Linked DNA regions of Homo sapiens: region 2 is linked to region 1. Evidence: promoter capture Hi-C in 16 types of primary human blood cells and fetal thymus (Javierre and others, 2016). All regions are on one chromosome and are shown on one strand. Each heading gives the region's core, a stretch centred on a gene start or on the middle of the fragment in contact. The rest is flanking DNA. Distances are from core to core; before and after follow the strand shown.

What was found. The method cuts DNA at HindIII sites, captures the fragments that hold promoters and counts their contacts. A CHiCAGO score of 5 or more calls a contact.
Region 2: a fragment that was not itself captured here is called in contact with the fragment with the promoter of TUBGCP3 in region 1 in 1 of 17 cell types (monocytes); the score reaches 5.9 in monocytes.

What each region holds. Positions count from the first base shown.
Region 1 is chr13:112,583,262-112,589,669 of GRCh38, forward strand. It overlaps TUBGCP3 (tubulin gamma complex component 3), which reads right to left and starts at 4,892. Exons shown (of 22, transcript NM_006322.6): 1 at 4,644-4,892. The coding sequence starts at 4,719. It overlaps LOC124903251 (a long non-coding RNA gene), which reads left to right and starts at 4,925. Exons shown (of 2, transcript XR_007063945.1): 1 at 4,925-6,155. RefSeq lists silencers at 4,363-4,482, 4,513-4,572, 4,603-4,822 and an enhancer at 4,888-5,707. The HindIII fragment of the contact is 2,856 bases long and covers 2,624-5,479 here.
Region 2 is chr13:112,882,514-112,888,895 of GRCh38, forward strand. It overlaps ATP11A (ATPase phospholipid transporting 11A), which reads left to right. Exons shown (of 30, transcript NM_015205.3): 30 at 1-4,655. Among named protein-coding and RNA genes, the nearest start is that of MCF2L-AS1, 83 kb to the right of the region's middle. RefSeq lists enhancers at 549-693, 2,995-3,139, 3,566-4,141 and cis regulatory regions at 621, 3,067. The HindIII fragment of the contact is 4,471 bases long and covers 1,523-5,993 here.

The sequences.
Region 1 (6,408 bases), core at 3,642-6,141:
TCTGCTACAGCCATTAGAATCACAACTCAAAAAATGCACCCAATTTTTAACCTTGAGCAAGATAATTTGGTCTTCATCTTGAAGACTACAAATAGAGAACAAATTAAGCCTTCAACAGATTCGATGAGATTGGTTTTCTAGAAAGGACCCTCTGACTGAAGAGGAGAAGAGGAACTAGAGGAGATACAAAGCCAAGGCAAGACCCTCAGCTGGAATTGCGTTCAGTCCCAAATGTGAAGGCTCCAGAGACACCTGGATGTGGGCCCAAGAGCTTTTAAACAAAAAAGTTGCCCTTTGTATCCCCAAAAGATTCTATATACACTCAGGTTAAAGATGACAACTGAACTTCAAGATGCACAAAAATAAATTCGACTCAAGTGAATACAGAAACTCCACAGTTGTGTGTTTCTCAAGATTCAAAAAACAACTGCGGAAAAGTTGAACTGTTTGGGGAGACCCAAGTTTCTGCCTTCCTGTTTCTTGTCGACAGCGTGGACTATATGTTCCACACTTCTGCTTTTCTGAAGGATGGGGGAGGGGTCAGGAGGGCGTTGGGAGTAAGCCACAGTGCTTAGTAGAGGAACAGAGCACATACACTAGCCACCCTTGACTCCAGATGCAAGTCAGAGTAACTTATCACGCATTTTAATGTTTCGGATGCCAAGCTCCAACAGACACCTACAGGATCAGAAGCCCTAGAGATGAAGCCCACAATATTAATTCTGAGTAAGTCCCACATTTAGAGAGTTTAAAATGAAAAGGCATGAAGTTAGATACCATAAAAAGTCCTGTTCTCAACCACTGGCCACCAGCTCCCCTTCCCACAGGCAATCAACGTTATCAGGTTCTTGTGAAATCACAGGCGATTCCAATGCATGGCTCTAGTTGAAAAGCAATGCTCTAAAACAACAAAAACATTACTCTAGATGCGTGGTTCTCAAACTCTTTGGTCTCAGGGCTTCTTTACACTATTACGATTGAGAACTCCAAAAAGCTTTTGTTTATGTAGGTTATATCTATCCACAGTTACCATATTAGAAATTTAAGCCAAAACAATTTTTAAATTTTAACTTATTGAAAAATAGTAAATCCATCAAGTACAACTTGAAACAAAGCCTGAAACTCTGAAGTTTTAATACACATCTAATGTATATCTTAATATACATGTAATACACATTGATCTTCCCAAGAATGTAATTATATAACCAAAGGAAGATCACATGGTATTTGGAACTTCATCAAAAGCTCTTTACCATTTTGGAAAATCATGAAACCAATAGCAACACCACTTGTGGTACTGAATCACCAAAACAATAATCCTTTATCTTCTGATAGTGGCTTGTAGGACACTCATAGAGGTCTTGCATATTATGGCAATCATCTTCGAATATGCTGTGTACTGTAGTCATACCTGAACATTTATGATGAAATACTTATCTAATATAAATTCCTCTTTATGTATTCTTTACCTCATAGTTAGAAAAAGGATTACAAAGTAGCTATGAAAAGAAGTGTTACCTCTGACAGATTTGAACATTAACATCAAGCACACTGTTTCCAATGATAAGAATAATTACGCAAAGACATAATAAATAAATGTGCTCCCAGGAGGGGCAGGGATATGGAGACAGGATTTGACTATGACTGGCTGGCAGTATGTGTTTCAAGCAAATTCACAGATGTTATAAGTTGGAAAAGGTGGTAAATCATGGTCATGCTAACTTTGTAAAACTGTCAAGCACCATTATATGTAGGTGCTTTGCTTCTGAAGGTCCCTTGAAGTCAACTGTATAATTTTTTAAAAGATACCTTATAAAAATGTGATTCATATGAAATTCTCATTAAAAGTAACAAGTACCTATTATGCCTTGATTTCATAGTACTAAAAAAAATGTATTACAAAAGCATAAGGCCAATTGTAATATGTCATCAAAGAATAAGGTAATTAATCAAATATTCTATGGAGTTACCAGATAAAATGCTCACTAATCAAATTTTTAACACCAAATATTGTAAAGGTAGTAATTAATATTGCTCCTTTGCTCACTAAGGTATAACAAATGAAAGAACAAGGTAAGCTACTATTTATAAATTCTTCAGTAAATAGCAGCATAATTTAAAATTATATCATAAATGCTTGACAATCCTAGCTATCTAGAACATAGCAAAAAGAGCATCACCTTTAATGGACTTCATGACATAATTTATTCAGAGAGGGCCGGGCGCAGTGGCTCGTGCCTGTAATCCCAGCACTTTGGGAGGCCAAGCGGCAGGGGGGTGGGGTGCAGATCACTTGAGGTCAGGAGTTGGAGACCAGCCTGGCCACATGGTGAAACCCCATCTCTACTAAAAACACAAAAATTAGCCAGGAGTGCTGGCATACACCTGTAATCCCAACTACTTGGGGGGCTGATGCAGGAGAATCACTTGAAGGAGGCAGAGGTTGCAGTGAGCCCAGATCATGCCACTGCACTCCAGCCTAGGTGACAGAGCAAGACTCCATCTCAAATAAATAAATAAATAAATTATTTATTCAGAGAGGACCCTGTCAGGATCTGAGAGCCCACTTTTAGACACAGTTCTAAATGGGAAGATAGTAGGATACAGAATTTTGCTGAAAAGAAGCTTTTCAGTCTCTTAGAAGGGACAAAACTTTTATATCAAAGAATCTTCAATGTAAAAAAAAAAAAGTTTTTGGCTGGGCGCGGTGGCTCACACCTCTAATCCCAGCACTTCGGGAGGCCGAGGCGGGTGCATCACGAGGTCAGGAGATCGAAACCATCCTGGCTAACACAGTGAAACCCCGTCTCTACTAAAAATACAAAAAATGAGCCAGGCGTGGTGGCGGGCGCCTGTAGTCCCAGCTACTCGGGAGGCTGAGGCAGGAGAATGGCATGAACCCGGAAGGTAGAGCTTGGCAGTGAGCCGAGATCACACCACTGCACTCCAGCCTGGGCGACCAGAGTGAGACTCTGTCTCAAAAAAAAAAAAAAGTTCTTAGGTTGAGAAATATCATTCTAGCTCATGATGAATGAATTTCAAAATCCAATTATAACAATGGGAATGTATGAATGTGTGGTTTATCCCTAGAAAAAAAAACTCTGGAACCACTGGTATAAGGAAAACACTGACATTAAGGTGGGTAAGTCCTAACAATCTTAGTTTTATCTGATTCCCCCTATGACGAGGAACATGAAACATGTGAAAGGAAACTCAGTCTGCTAATGACAAAAACAAACGATGGCAGGCCATGCTCATACCTCAAGACCTTTCCACTGGTTCTCTCTACTCAGAACCTTCCCCAGATGTTCAAATGGCCCTCCCTTACTCCATTCAGGTCTCTTTAAATATCTCAGAGGCTTTCCCTCACCTGCCTCTTCCCTCTCTATTCCTTTACCCTACTTTTTCGCCACAGTACTTATTGCTAATTAACATGGCTGGTTTATCATCTGTCTCTTCCAGTAGAGTGTCTGTCAGATCTGTGGGAGGAATGACTTGTGCATCTGCATCACCAGCACTTAGCACAGTTCCCGGGGGGAACTTTGAGGACGGGGTTGTCCTCAAAGATTTCTTAGATAAATAAAGTGATAGAATCAAACTTTACAAGATGCAGCAAGAACTGTGTGAAGTCACTCATTTAATAGCGACACAAAATTATTCATGATTGCCCCAAGATTATCATAGAACATCCAATGAATTATGTACAGTAATTGTCATGAAGCATGAAAGGTCAAAATGCATTCTCAGTACTTTAAATGTAACTTTGAAGTCTTCCTTCAAAAATTGAGTAACTTCTTTTCCACATTTTGGTGCTTAAGATGTAACTCAGTTGCTTCCATTACTCAGAAAATTCCCTCATGGTGCATCCTCACTCTCTGCCCCACCAACCTGGCCAAAACAAGGAGCAAGAAATGGCATCCTGTACCATTTCTTTCAAAGTACCTCGACTACAAAATGGTTTTACCTACCGTATAGGATTAGTTTTGCTTATTAGTAACAATATTCGCCATGTGAACTTTCCCAGAATAGTTTTATATCAAATCCAACCTTCAACCCTTTAAACAGTAGGAAAACACGGCAGTTACAGTCGTTAACACCCTCTTCCCATAATACTCAAGCCTGTTAAACTTTCCTAACGAAAAGGGACGATGATGTGACACTCCAGCACCCCGCATCCACCTCCGCGGCGCAGCCGCTCTCTCCACCCCACAGGATGAACCCAAAGGCGCGCAGAGGCGCCCTCCCACGGCGCGTGACACCAGAGAAGGGGGATAAATTGGCGAGCTGGCATTCCTCCCGTCCTCACTGACGGACCCGCGAGCGGAGTGAGCGGTGACTCAGCCCGCTCCGGCTCGGCTCCGCCCTCCCGCCTCCCGCCCCGGCGTTCTCGCCCCGGCCTTGGCCTCTCCACTCCCTCCGCCCCGGTCCTGGCCCCCAGCCCTCCGCTGTCCTCCCCGGCTCCCTGACCCTCGAACCCCAGCCCTCCGCTCCCTCGTCCGGGCCCCACGTCCTCGGCCCGTCCCCCAGCCCTCTGCCCGGCCCTGCATCCTCGTTCCTCCAGCCCCGGAACGTATTAGGGCTGCACGCGCAGGGAGCAGCCCCCGGGACGGGTCTGCGGGCTTCGCGTCGCCCGGCCACTCTACCTTCGCTCCTGCCCAGGATCCTGCAGCACAGGTTCTGCAGCAGAACGTTCGGCGACTTCTGGTCCGGGGTCGCCATCCTCGCCCGGAGCCGTGCACGGTGGTCCGGGCAGAGCCGCCACTGCCGCCGCACGCGCAGGGACCGCGGCCCGCGCCCTTCCTGCGCCCCGCAAGCTCCCTGCTCCTGACAGGCTAAGGCGCGGGCGCCGCCGGCCACCAGGGCGCCATTTTAACGGAACCCGCCGAAAGCGCGGGCGCTTCCCACAATGCCCCGCTTCTTCCCTGCGCCGCGGCCGCGCGTGCGGCTGCCTAAGCGTTCCCGGCCCTGTCTGGTGCATTCCCCCTGCTGCTGCCCGGTCGGCCGAGAAAGTTCCGGGCGACAGGTGGCCCGAGGCCCTCGAGCTGCGCGGACAGAGCGGCCCCGGAGTCGCGAGCGTGACGGGCTTGCTTGGAGGGCACTTGGTGGCCGGTAGCACCATAAAGGCCATAATTTGGTGTGTGGGTGTGGGGGTGTGTGTGTTAACGGCATTGGTTTGATTCACACTTCTGATGAAAGAAGCCTGTTTAAAAAAGAAAAGAAAAAAGAAGCCTGTTTAAAGGGTGCAGGGTGTTACGATTGTTAACGTGCAGTGGGCAGTTCACCTGCTACGCTATCCAACAGGCGCCCTGCTCAGGCCCGACCTCGCACTGCCGCGCGGGCCGGTCCCCCCCGGCCCGGGTAACTGGGACGTCCTGGGAAAATAAATTAATCACGTACGGAGTGAGAGAACAGGAAACCTGCCGAGAAAAAGATCGATAAGCAGACAATTACACCAAGCCAACTTCAGTGCAATCGTTAAAGCTTACACATGGGTGCACGCTTGGGAGCCGTGAGCTACCATGTTAAAAGGCCAACTTCCTAAGGAAAAATGATGGAAAGAGATCCCGAGATCCTATGAAATGGAAGAGGGAGGACAACCCAGCTATCCCAACATCCCAGCTGAGGCCAGCCACACACGTGACTGTCTGCAAAGCCCGTCGGGCCTGGGTCCAGCTCAGGTTGCAGAATTGTTGGCAAGTAAAACGTTTGTTGTCGTTCTGACTCAAAAACATGGAGACAAAGCAGACTTGTAGGGTATTACAGTCAACAACTAGACCCTACAGCTAAAGGACTGTCTCCTTGCATGATGCAACAACCATCACAGCTCTGCAAGAGCAACCAAACCACCAAGGATGCGATCACCCCTCACTGCCTTCGATACGCATTCTGTGGAAACGCTTCTAAACTTGCATCACACTCAACACGATCAGTTAGTAACTGGCTTCTCATGAAGTTATTCTCTCAGCCGCATACTACAATGTCCAGATGTCATCTAAATCCTGCCACCCTCTCCCCCACCTTCAGCTGAAACGCTGCATGACTGCATCATCTTACCTGACCAGCTCTCTCCTAGGACAGACATGCAAGAACCCCCCTCACTAACGCTGATGTTATTTGGTTTACAGATGGCTCTTACTTAAAGATGCAGCTGGAAGGTATTACACTGGTTATGCCATAGCGTCTTTGCCCAAAGAAATAGAAAGTGCTTGTCTTCCAGGAGCAATCATCTCAACAAGCAAAGTTAATAGCATTAATTAGAGCCTGTCAGTTGGCAAAAGGAATAACTGCTAATCTTTATACCAATAGCAGGTATGCTTATAGAGTAGCTCATAACTTTGGAATGCTATGGAGACAAAGGATTTTTAACCTTTTCTAGTCAGCCCACAAAAAAATGGGTGCCTTGTTTCA
Region 2 (6,382 bases), core at 2,508-5,007, 300 kb after region 1:
ATACCATCATCCCTGCGGATGCACCGCCGTACCCTGCTCATCTGGGAGTGGTTTCCCTGCGGTTACGTCCAAGCCCGCCTGCCCTGTGTGTTGGGGCTGGCTGAGTTTCGGTCTCCCCATCACCGGCCGCCTCGTGGAGAAGGCAGTGCCACGTGGGAGGACAAGGCCACGCCGGCAGCTTCCAGCCCTGCCGCAGAAGTGCCAGGATGTCCATCAGCCACTCGCCAGGGCACGGAGCCGTCAGTCCACTGTTACGGGAGAATGTTGATTTCGCGGGTGCGAGGGCCGGGAGACAGATACTTGGCTGTGATGAGCAGACATCCTCTGTCCCCGTGGAGGGGTCAACACCAAGGTGGTGTTCGTGCACCAGAACCTGTCTCGGGCTGACGGGGGTGGCACACAGGACACGGGTGGATCCCAACAGGCAGCACCGCACCTCTGCCCGCCTCCCGCACTGCAGCTCCGCCCGCCGGGCTCTGCGTCCCCACGTCCCCTCGTCCCATCCCCACGTCCCCTCATCCCGTCACCTCGTCCCCACATCCCCTTGCCCCGTCACCTCGTCCTCATGTCCCCTTGTCCTGTCACCTCGTCCCCACGTCCCCTCGTCTCCTCATCCCCACGTCCTCTCGTCCCCTTGTCCCGTCCCCACATACCCTCGTCCCCATGTCCCCACGCAGGGCTCTCCTTCGTCTTAGGATCTGTCCAGCGCTGCTCTGGGTGGGTTAGCAACCCCAGGGCTGCTGTGATAGGAAGTCCCTGTTGTTCTCCGTACTGGCATTTCTATTTCTAGAAATAATATTTGACATAGCCTTAATGGTCCTTAAAGAAGACATTTCAGTGTGAGATTCAGACTTCAGACGCTGAAACTGCTGCCTTTCAGGAAAGCACCACCAACGCTGGAGGAGGAGCCGGCCCTCACGCCCGCCCCGCGCCACGCTGTGGAACGGGGCTCCGGCAAGTGAAACCCAGAGGGTGTTTCCGAGGTGCTCGACAGTAGGTATTTTTGGAAGCTCAGATTTCACCATTTGATTGTATAATCTTTTACCTATAAAATATTTATTTGAAGTAGAGGGTAAATCAGCGGTAAGAACAGTGAACACAGTGGTTGGGATAAAATAAGGTGACAAACATCACACCAAAGATGAGGGTAGCGAGCAACTGGCTTGAGCAGACAGAACGGGGAAGACTCCACTCTGTCCCGAGGGGCCAGCCGCAGGCGTCCCCAGGGCCACCCTGCCCTGAGGTCCTTGTGTGGCCGCCCTGGCTTGGCAGCCCTGCCCACGCTGCCCCCGCAAACAATGGTGTGTGCGTTTTTACAGCCCTTTTTAGGAACCCAATATGGGCATAAATGTAACACCTGTAGCGGGGGCAGATTCTCTGTATGTTCAGTTAACAAATTATTTGTAATGTATTTTTTTAGAAATCTTAAAATTGCCTTTGCACTGAAGTATTTTCATAGCTGTTTATATCTCTTTTATTCATTTATTTAACATACTGTCTAATTTTAAAAATAGGTTTTTAAAGCTTTCATTTTTAAGTTTATGAAATTTTGGCCACTTTACATTTAGATTCTGGTGAGAGTTTTGACTGAATGTTCCAATCTCTGATGAATGCGAATTTTCAGATTTGATTTTATTCTCTACACACACCTCTTCTTTTCTTGGTATTTCTGGTGGCAGTGATTAGTTGAACAGCACATTTAAGGCACGATAATTTGCTACACTTTTTCTTTACAATTTGTTGCAATTTCATCTGCTTTCTATGTTTCATTGTTAATTGCCATCCTTCAGCCTTAAAAATAGAAGATTCTCACGTGAAGGTTTAGTAAGTTGGGTCCCAGCTCTGCCTGTGTGGAGATAGTCACCATGTACCTCTGACAACAAGTTTTAGTGTGAAAGTCACTAAACTTTTACACACTCCCAAACGTCTTTTTAAAAATTGCTTGGGAAATTATTAAATGAATGTGCCTGATGATTTGAAATAGACAAGGGGCACGAGATAAAAAAGAAAAGGATGAGAAGATCCTCAGTGAATGACGTTGCAGGGTCTTCATGCAATTTTCCACCTCGCAGTAGTTAGTATTTACTTGCCTTAAACTAACTTTGAAGCAAGTAATGTCAACTTTGAGCACTTTGTTGAGTTTTGAAAAATCTTATTTGTTGCTGCACAGGTTAATAAATTATCAATTTGTAATTCAGCATGTTGGTCAGAGACACGGTCACTGATTCACACCCAGTCCCTGCCACAGACCGTCTCAGACACGCACAGTGGGCCTGCTGCATGATTCACACCCAGTCCCTGCCACAGACCGTCTCAGACACGCACAGTGGGCCTGCTGCATGATTCACACCCAGTCCCTGCCACAGACCGTCTCAGACACGCACAGTGGGCCTGCTGCATGCGTGTTACCTGGCTTTTGGCTCCACGCTCACTCATAGCCATGTCCACATGGGGGCTTGCACACAGGATCACTCACATATGTACATGTACCCACCACAAACGTGCAAGCTCCTGCACACATGCATGCACACAAACGTGTACACAAGTGTGAGCTCCTACACGCATACACACACACACGTGTACATGCACCAAAGCATGTGTGACCTACAGACATGCAGAACATGCACGTGTACACATACCACAGACACGCGTGTGCATGCTCCTACACAATACATATGCACATATCATGAACAGCGTAAGTTCCTACACACGGACGTGTGATACACACATGCATGTACAGGTAAGCACACATGTACAAGCTCCTACAGGCTTGCTCTCACACACGTGTATGCACAGCAGAGAGACGTATGAGCTTCTACTGCACACATGCACACACACACGCACACGTACATTCACTACAAACGTGCAGCCTCCTGCACACGTGCACATTCATGTGTACACCACAAATGAGTTCCCAGACGTGTAAACACACGTGCACACATCGTACACATGTGAGCTCCCACACGTACACACAGATGCACATGGACACACCCCAAACACGCACAGGCTCCTACACACATGCACACACGTGTACACCACAAACGAGCTCCCAGACATGTAAACACACGTCTCCCACACGTGAGCTCCCACACGTACACATGCACATGTACGCACCACAAACACATGCGCAGGCTCCTGCAGGCGTGAATACACACATGCACACACATATACACACATGTGCCACAAACAAGTGCACACTGTCCTGGTGTCCTGCACTGCATCCTGCCTCCTTGCTGAGGGGCCCCTGTGAGAGGCCTCTGGATGGGCATGGGAAGATGGGCTCCCTGGCCCCCAGCCCATGCCTCCCTGGGATGAAGAGTCCCCCTCCTGGCAGAATGTCTGGGCTTTGCAGAGCAGGCCCCGGGGGTGAAGTCGCAGCTTCACTTACACCAGCTGCTCTGTGAGCAAGGCTTGGTGCCCTGGACAAGGCCCTTCCCCTTTAGGGAGGTCCAGCCTCGCAAGCTGAAACCTCCCCTCGGCTCAGCCCTATACCAGGCGGCCACAGCAGGACTGGCCACACCCACGCCGCACCTCATCCGTGCACGCGTCGGAGCACGGCCAGCCTTCCGCCACGAGCCAGCTGGGAAGGGCCGCGGCCGCCTAAAGCCCCAGTCAACCCAGCCTGTGTCTGAGCAGACAGGGCGAACAAGCAGGCCACACCGTCTCGAGGGAGGAGGCCAGATGCGGCCAGCGTCTCCAACAGGGTGACCATCCGCTCGGCTTGCTGAGCGTTTAAACAAATGTTTAGACAGGCTGTGGGGACTCCCCTGAGTTGAGCCTTGGCCAGGGGTCCGGTGCTGTCGCGGGAAACCTCCAGCCTTGTTCTTCAAACCACTCAGCTCATGTGTTTTGCACTGACTAGTACTGAATAATACAACCACTCTTATTTAATGTTAGTATTATTTATTTGACAACTCAGTGTCTAACAGCTTGATATGCAGGTCCTTGCATCCTACATTTCTTTAGGAAGTTACCCATTTGTAACTTTAAAAACAGGAAAAATATCAGTTGGCAAATGCAATCTTTTTTTTTTTTAAGCTAAAGGTGGGTGAACTGGAATGAAAATCTTTCTGATGTTGTGTCTATAAGCAGCCTTGATGGGATATGTTAGAAGTGTCATGAAAGTGTGATTCTACTTTTGCAGAAAAATCTAAAGATCAATTTATATAGCTTTATTTTTTACTTTATCAAAGTATACAGAATTTTAATATGCATATATTGTGTCTGACTTAAAATTATAATGTCTGCGTCACCATTTAAAATGTCTGTTCATTATGTAATGTAATAAAAGAAGGTCTTCAAAAATGTATTTAACATGAATGGTATCCATAGTTGTCATCATCATAAATACTGGAGTTTATTTTTAAATTATTAAACATAGTAGGTGCATTAACATAAATCAGTCTCCACACAGTAACATTTAACTGATAATTCATTAATCAGCTTTGAAAAATTAAATTGTTAATTAAACCAATCTAACATTTCAGTAAAGTTTATTTTGTATGCTTCTGTTTTTAACTTTTATTTCTGTAGATAAACTGACTGGATAATATTATATTGGACTTTTCTCTAGATTATCTAAGCAGGAGACCTGAATCTGCTTGCAATAAAGAATAAAAGTCTGCTTCAGTTTCTTTATAAAGAAACTCACACAAGTGGTGTGTACATTTTCTGCTCTGAGAAACTGTGCAGTCAGAACACTTCGCAGCGTGCTTCTGTGCGGGATGGAGGTGGCAAGCCCAGTGGGTGATGTGGGCCCTCCCTGGCTGTTCCCTCGGCTGCCACCCCCTGCAGGGATACCAGGTGTGCCAGGTGCAGGGCCCTGGTGCTGACTGCCCTGGATGCCAGTGCCTGCACAGAACCGGAAACACCACTGGGTTTCCCAACCTTCTGGTCCATCCCCACCACAAGCTCCTCCCTGACCTCTGCCAAGCTCCTGCCTGCCACCTCGTGCTTGGGGTCTAGGTGCCCCCTTTCCATCCCAATTTTCCCTCTTGACCAAACCCCAGGCTCCTCCAGGCCCTTCAGCCTCCTGGGCTCTGTTGGCTGAACCCAGCCTTTCCCACTCTGAAGTAGAGGGCATTCCCTGCCCCCTGCCACTCCCAGCCCTGGCAGAATTCTGGGTGCTGCCACGGAGCCCCCGGAATGCCCCCTGGCCTTGGAGGCCGTGGCCTTGTCCCAACCCTGACCTCACCCTCTCTCGAGTTCCACCCAGCCCGGCCGTGTCATACTCTGCAGTTTTGTGTCTTGTCTGGAAACACCAACTTCAAAACACCACCAGGTCCCAACTTCTGGGATCCCAGCTCCATTGGGGCACCCGGAGAGGGGCCTTGGGGTGGATCCTAGAGCATCCCTGGTGGCTGGTGCCTGAGTCCCGCCTGGCTACATCTCCTCTCCCTGCTCAGCCACCTGCTTCCCATGGAGTCTCAGCTCAGGGCCACGTGGGAAACACCCCGGGAGGGGACAGAGGGCCCCTGGCTCGCAGGCTGGAATTCTAAACATGGGACTTTTTCTGGCTCCTGAACGCCACAAAGTCGGGGGTACTTTTCACAGGCAGTGCTCCGAAGGCATCTGTGGGGTGAATGAACCTACAGCTGCCCTGGATTCTCTCCGAAATGCTTTCCTCTCGTTCCCTGGATTCTCAGCATCTTCATGTGGGCTTACCTTTACCTTTCCAGCTCGTAACCCTGAAGCCATCTTCCGTACAGCTGTCTCTTCCTCTTGTAGCAGGAAAACAGATAATGCTGTGATTTTGCGGGTCATGGGGAGAAGAGGGGAGGGGCAGAGCAGGCTGGTCCCAGGGGGCGGCACTAGGGTGGGAAGGCCTGGCCCTAATGAGTGACCCAAACTCGCTTCACCTCCCCCTGCTCTCCAGACAGAAGACATGAATCCTGAAAGCGAGATGCCCAGTGACCCTGCCCACTGCCCAAGGAGGAGGAAGCCTGGCCCTCCCTGCCCATCAGGGCCTCCTGGGGAAGCCAGAGGGGGATGCAAGCTTGCCCTCCACACTGGCCCATCTGTCCCGTGCCAAAGATCTTTTCTTAACTGCAGATGCTAGGTCACTGGGGGCCTCTGTGGGTGTTTAGCAAACATCATCAACCACACAGGCCACCCGAGGCCCCCACAGCAGATGATGCCGCCTGTGGACCTGAATGGGAGTGTCTGTGTGCCTGCAGCGGTGAGGATGGAGGAAGGCGTGGCTCGTGTGGCGCTGCGTGCCCCGCGCTGATGCTGGGGCTCCCAGAGCCGCCCACGTGGCCTGTGGCGCACTTGCTCAGTGGCGGGTCCTGAGGTGGACGAGGACTGGCCCTGTCCTGAGGAGGCTGCCGGTCCTTTGCACGCGCAGTGAACCCGCTCACCTCGTGCAGCCTGTCCTGACGAC